Linked DNA regions of Homo sapiens: region 1 is linked to region 2. The links are contacts of gene promoters, found by promoter capture Hi-C in blood cells and fetal thymus (Javierre and others, 2016). All regions are on one chromosome and are shown on one strand. Each heading gives the region's core, a stretch centred on a gene start or on the middle of the fragment in contact. The rest is flanking DNA. Distances are from core to core; before and after follow the strand shown.

What was found. The method cuts DNA at HindIII sites, captures the fragments that hold promoters and counts their contacts. A CHiCAGO score of 5 or more calls a contact.
Region 1: a contact is called between a fragment that was not itself captured here and the fragment with the promoter of USP1 in region 2, in 1 of 17 cell types (non-activated CD4 T cells). The highest score is 5.4, in non-activated CD4 T cells.

Annotation. Positions count from the first base shown.
Region 1 is chr1:86,911,770-86,914,963 of GRCh38, forward strand. It overlaps SELENOF (selenoprotein F), which reads right to left and starts at 2,357. Exons shown (of 5, transcript NM_004261.5): 1 at 2,259-2,357. The coding sequence starts at 2,342. It overlaps HS2ST1 (heparan sulfate 2-O-sulfotransferase 1), which reads left to right and starts at 2,866. Exons shown (of 7, transcript NM_012262.4): 1 at 2,866-3,194. RefSeq lists enhancers at 1,654-2,268, 2,117-2,166, 2,269-2,883, 2,277-2,436, 2,487-2,606. The HindIII fragment of the contact is 468 bases long and covers 1,490-1,957 here.
Region 2 is chr1:62,435,571-62,438,738 of GRCh38, forward strand. USP1 (ubiquitin specific peptidase 1) reads left to right here and starts at 1,479. Exons shown (of 9, transcript NM_003368.5): 1 at 1,479-1,830. RefSeq lists enhancers at 1-713, 396-745, 714-1,481, 1,306-1,375 and a silencer at 2,076-2,135. The HindIII fragment of the contact is 3,360 bases long and covers 75-3,168 here.

The DNA of each region.
Region 1 (3,194 bases), core at 474-2,973, about 24 Mb after region 2:
GATTTAAAATGACTATTTTTTTTTTTTTTTTTGAGACAGAGTCCTGCTCTGTTACCCAGACTGGAGTGCAATGGTGCAATCTCGGCTCAGTGCAACCTCCGCCTCCTGGGTTCAAGTGATTCTCCTGCCTCAGCCTCCCGAGTAGGCATGCGCCACCACGCCCAGCTAATTTTTATATTTTTACTAGAGACGGGGTTTCACCGTGTTGGCCAGACTAGTCTTGAACTCCTGACCTCAGGTGATTTGCCCACCTCAGCCTCCCAAAGTGCACTGGAATGAGCCACCACAACTGGCCAAAAATGACTAATTTTTGGCTTGGGCAATTGGGAAGCTGACAAAGGCAAAGCCAACCATTTAGATTCTGAATACAGCCAGGGATAATTCAAACGGTGAACCAAGACGCTGTTATTTCTGAGGAGAGAGATGTTTATGGCCTGAGTGATTAACAATAAGTGGATGGATTTGAGATACTTAGGAATTAAAATCAGTAAGTTTCAGTAATTCCCTGGATATGATATATGTAAGGAAAGGAGTCAAACATGACATCCAAATTTCTAGTTTGGATTCTGTGCACAGTCACTGTGGTACGCTGTTTAATTAATTCCTATCATTATTACATATGGAATTAGTTAATTCCATAAATACCTCCTATCCTGGTATGCACACTTTGCAAAGTGACTCTGTCATTCCTCCCATGTAGAGATGAAATCTATTTCTCCATCCCTGAATGTGAACTAGTCTTGTGACTTGCTTTGAGAAATATGTGATGGAAGTAATATATGTGATTTCCAAGGCAAGGCTTTAGAAGGCATTGTAGCTTTTGCTCTTTTGGAGTGCTGCCCTGAGAGTGCCATGAAAAGAAGTTGGTCTAGCCGACTGGAGGATGAGAGGTCACACGGAACAGAACCAAGTCCTCGAGCTGACAGCACCAACTATAAACAGTGGTAATCCTGGAACCTTTCGGTTTAGCTGACCTACTAGGTCAACAAAAAGCATAAATGAGGCCAGGGGAAAACCAACATAGGTGGAGTAGTTCTACTCCACTGACCCAGAATTATGAGAAATCATTGCTGTTTTAAGCTACTAGGTTTTAGGGCGGTTACACAGCTATAGACAACTGACAGTCAAAGACAGAGGGAGATCAAAAAAAGACAACCTGAAATGTTATCTCGAATGACCTAAAGATGTGCAAAAACCCTTAAACAGTAGAAAGTTTAGGGAGAGGTGATCCAGTAATTCCTAGCACCAAATGCCTGAATAACAAGATAATTGGAATGTTAATTACAGAAGTTAAGAATCTACCTTTTGGTTAAAGTAGCCAAAGCAAACAGCCAGGATGCTTTCAAGCTCTTTGAGAAAGGTAAGTACAGGTGTTCATAGAGGACTCCGGTGTAGTCCCTTAACACCCTCAACCTTGGATAAGTAAATTAAACCAGGTCTCCTTATTAGAGACTACCCGAAGAATTAAGCTAGGATAAAAAAACGTAAAAGCTTTCAGCACTGTGCCTAAAATTTTACTATTCACACAGCAGAACATGGATATGAGAAGAAATAAGTTAAAAGTACACTTTTCCCATTCAAAGGTCACCCATCTATTCTGCCAATAGAGAAAAATGAAATAAAAAACGCTGCCTTAAAGAAGACAACGAACATCATTTAAAAAACTAACTTCAAAAATGAATTATACTTTGGTATAGATAACTCCTTTTACTCCAACAACATTGTTTAAAAGCACAAATCGCACTCAAGCGCAGCCAGCCGTATATGAATAGCAGAGGAGAACGGAAGTTAAGAGACTAACAGAAGTAGTGAAAATGAGAGAGCACGCGCGCGAGAGAGGTAAACACAAACTGTTCGCCTGGACCAACGACTTGAAGACTTGCCTCTAAGAGTTGGAAGTCTCGTCATGAGTCTCTTGCATTTCTGTCCATTTAAAAACAACCTCCACTTCTTGCCAAGCTTTATTATTCCCCCCTCCCACCTGGTGTGGTTTACAGATTGTTTTTAGCAAGAGCCGTATAAGAGAAGCTACGTACCCAAGACAATCTGAAATCAAGAGAAAACTGCTGCTAGAAACCCAAGGCGGGGAAGGAGAAGGATCAACCGAGAAATTAAGCCACGTTGCATTCTGGCCGCAGCAGTCATTAAGGAAGCGCAGTCCTCCCCACCCTTTTCAACCAGGACCGAATGTTGCGTCTTTCTCAGCTGCAATCACTCCTACTCTCCCTGTGGCAGCTGCGAAGGTGATCTACACTCACCGCTTGAAGCACAGTCGCCAACAACAACCGTAGCCCAAACGCCGGCACCAGACACCCACTCGGCCCAGCCGCCATCGCTACCATTTTCCGCAGGTTTCTGGCTGCCTAGAAGGACCCCTAAGCTAGGGGCGTCCACTCCAGAGCCTGATCCAAAACAGAACGCTAACGGCCGTTGCCCTTACATCTCTCATTTGGAAGTGACAGGTATTAAATAACGGCATATGAAAGCTTAAAAGTCATCAAATACAATCACTGGGTGCTTTCGATTACCCAAATCAGGCACTTGCCTAAACTCCCCACTTCTTTACTTCTGCGGTCTCCTTTCTTTTATTCACGACACTTCGTCAAGCAGCCAAGAAGCCACGCCTTCGCCAGTTTTAGCCCCGCCTTCTTCTCCAAGTTTACCCAATTGAATGTCGTCTTGATTGAGCTCTGTGGCAGAGGAAACCAACCGTAAACCGAACCAAGAGCGAAGCGCAGGGGCTCTTCCGTCCAATAAGCGGACCCGAACGGGGGGAGGGGCGGGGCTTCTGGTTGCCGAGCAGCGTACGCGGATGCGTGCGCGTGGTGGCGGAGGGGGATGGGCGGGGGCGGGGATGAGGGCGGCGCAGCCGCAGCGCCGGTGGAGGGGCGCGCGGCCGCGAGCAAAGGAGGGAGGGAAGGAAGGAAGAGAGGGAGGCGGGCAAGCAGGCGGGCGCGGGGGTCGGGGACTGAGGCAGTAGAGGGAGGCGAGAGCCCGGCAGCCGCTTCGCGCTGTTTGCTGCGCGGGCTTTTGGAGGGGGCGGCCGTTTAGTCGGCTGAGGAGAAGCGGACACCAGCGGCGTTGGTGATAGCGCCTGGGGGAGGGGGACTGGAGAGGCGAGAAGGGGGGTCGCTGCGGTGGTTCTCTCGCTGTCGCTCTCTCTTTGCCTCGCTCCCGGCTCGGCGGGCTCCTCC
Region 2 (3,168 bases), core at 229-2,728:
ACCACATTAAGCTTCAGGACGTTTGTAACTTGCTGTTCTCTCTGCCCGCACCATTCTTCCCTCAGATTCCTCCAAGCTTTTTCATTCAGCTCTGCTCAAATGTCAACTCAAAGAGGTCTTTCCAGGCTATCGTATCTATCACTTATCTTAGCGTCACTTGTATCTCCCTCTCCAGAATGTAATGCTCCTTTATGACAGGGAATGCCTTTACATCCCTCGCGCCTTGAAAAATGCCTGGCACATAGTAGGCACCTTAAAAATACTTGATTAAATGGATTTGGGCTGAACGTATCCTGCTTAACTGCAGCACTTGAGCTGAGGTCACCTCACCAAAGCAGGCACACAAACACAAAAGGAAGCACACAACCAGATGAGGCCTGCCTGCCGCTCCTGAACCCTTTGGGAGGGCTCGCGCGGGAACCCTGGGAAGCTCCCGCGGCCGGAGCTGGGCCTGAAACTGTTCTTTCGTTTCCTCCTGCGGCCGAGAAAGGGAAGAGGTAAACAGGCGAAAATGAGGCGAGCAGGGGCTGAGGACCGGGCCTCAGCTCTACAGCATTCGCCTGAGCATGTATTGTTATCCGTGGCAGCGCCTTGTCTCATTGGATGGCCCTAGGCCTAGTGTGGCCGCGACTCCGAACTGAAAGCCCAAGCGCGGCGGCGTCCAGCCGGGCAGCCATTTTCCGAAGCTGCTCTCTTGGTAACCCCGCCCGGGCGCGTACGCACGAACGGAGGCGGGGCTTACCGCGAGGGCCTCGCTCCGGAAGCCGCACCCTCCGCGGCGTCCCACCGTCGAGGATTAACAAAACGCCAAACAAGATTTTAACAGTCGGCAGCGAAAGCGCGCACTCGAGCGCCAATGAGAGCGGAAGGAGGGGCACCGCGCCTGAGGAACACTCCGTATGTCGAACAATGATTGGCTGGAGCCCACCTTTCTTCTTTTTTGCTATTAGATGGGCTTGCTGCTCCCGCCCATCTAATTGGCTTTGGTCTAGGTACTTCTGATTGGCTTCCCCCGGGCGGTGGGAGGCGCGGTTTTGGGGATTGTTCATCATGGATTGGTGAATTTGGGCTCCTTCTCGAGGTGGTGGCCCATCCCGTCTGCTCTCTGTCCCGTCTCCCGACCCGTACGCTTTTCCCTCAACTCGCGCGCACGAATGGTTAAAAAAAGGGTGTGAGGCTCGAGCCCGCCAGCCAGGCCGCTAGCACCTCGCGCGCGCCCTCAGCGAGGACCCGCACGAGCTGCCCGGCTCTGTGCCTGCGTTGTTTGAAACTGTGGAACCCGTTAGGCTTTTGGGGAACTACAGTCCCAGCTGGCTCCGGAGCCCGTGCGTGCCAGGGGCGAGTGGCCGTCGCGAGACGGCTCCTGCCTTTCGTGTCTCTGCAGCGTGGAGACTGGAACCGGCAATTTCAAAGGACGCCACGTTCAATCGCAGCGCTGGCGCGGGCGGAGGCTAAAACACGGGGGTCCTGAGACTGAGGAAAACGCGCCAAGTTCCCCTCGGTGGCGGAGTGCTAAAGACCCTAGCGGTTCAGGCGTTCGGCGAGCGGGGCCGCTGCTTGTTGCGCTCCTGGCTCTCCCGGGGCGGGCGCAGATGGGCGCCGCTCCCGGGATGTAGTTGGTGTTGGTGCAAGACGGGAGCGAGCGGCGGTCGGGGTTCCCGCTCTTGGGAGCGGATGGTCACTCCCCCGCGGGGAGGGCGAGCCGACCAGATTTTCCTGGGGCCGGGGACCCGGCGGGCTCGGGGCAGGGACTCACCTGTCGCACCCACACTCATTCGGGTTGGACTTGCCGGCGTCACCGCCGCGGACTTCGCTTTGGGCCATGACCAGGTAAGGAGGGCCTGGGAGGAGGGGCCGGCTCCCGGGCGCGGGGGCAAGTTCGGCCGGCGCGGGAGAGGAGCTGCCGGGGAGACCCCGGGACCGTGTTGGCCTCGCACCCTGGTCGACCTGCCAGGGGGAGCCGTGTGTGCCTCGGGCGTGGCGCCTGTCTTGCCGCCGCCGGGACGCGAGAAGGCAGGTGCGGGCTGGGCGTAAATAGGCCAACTCCGCGGCGAGGGCGCCCGGCGCGGGGGTGTGGGCCGAGGACGCCGCCGCCAGCCTCCCCCGACCGGGCAGCCTGGTCGCTGCTCGTCCTTCCAGCTTTCTTTCCGTTCCCGAGAGCGGTGAAGGATGGGGAGAAAGAAACGTTTCCACGCAGGTTGCCCTGTGTCGGTAATTGCGAAATTTTACCGCGCATTTTCTTTCACTTACACTTTTTCAAGAAGTGTTTAGAACGCCGCGTGTCTTAAACCTTGGCGAAGATGTCCTTGTAGATTTTTGTTGAAAAATCGGAATCGAGTCGTGTCATCTTATAAAGAATTTAAAACTATTGGGACTGAGTGTTCACGCTGTCAACAGATAATGGTCGATTCGTCGTGCTTTCTGCGAAAGTTGATTTAGTTACAGGAGAAATATTTTGGATGTAACAGCCCCCCAGTTACAAGGAAAGCCAGGAGCAAGAAATAGCAAGGAAGATACTGCACCTGGCAAAATGTTACATTCTCGGTGTGAGCTTTGCTTTGAGGGGCTAGGAGGTTTGGTTTTTTGATTAAGCTGACGATCCGCTATTTCACCTGCCTAATCATTCTTCCCTTCTGTGTAGTCTGGTTACTCTGTCGGTTTGAGATCCAGTTTCTGTCATCCATTAAATTGGCTCTCGAGAAAAACCTTTTATCAGAATCATTAATGCTTGGCGATCCCTGAGAACTTAGCGCAGGTTGGTTTATCATTCAGAAGACAGCGCTTCCTCAGAAGCATTAGGTAGACAGGAGAGTAAGTGAAGTTGGAGACAGAATGGAGAGATGGATCAGCTTTCCAGTGCTTCCTGATTTGGGTCTCAGAAATGGTTTCAGTGTGCTGAGTTCAGTATGAATTCCTAGATCAGTGTCAGCCATGTGAAATGCTTATTAAGGATGAAATTTGAGTGAGTCTTGTGTAGTTCATTTTATTACTCTGCATTTTAAATTTGAAACTCGTTGCTGAAGTTTTGGGCTTTAAGTAATTTTATGGTAATACTCTAGTCAGATAATTTTTCCTCCCATGTCCTGAAAAATAGGCCTGATGTAGAAAATATTAACTCCTACACTCCTACAAATGTTGCCATTTTTTTTCACGTGCAAGTTTTACTTT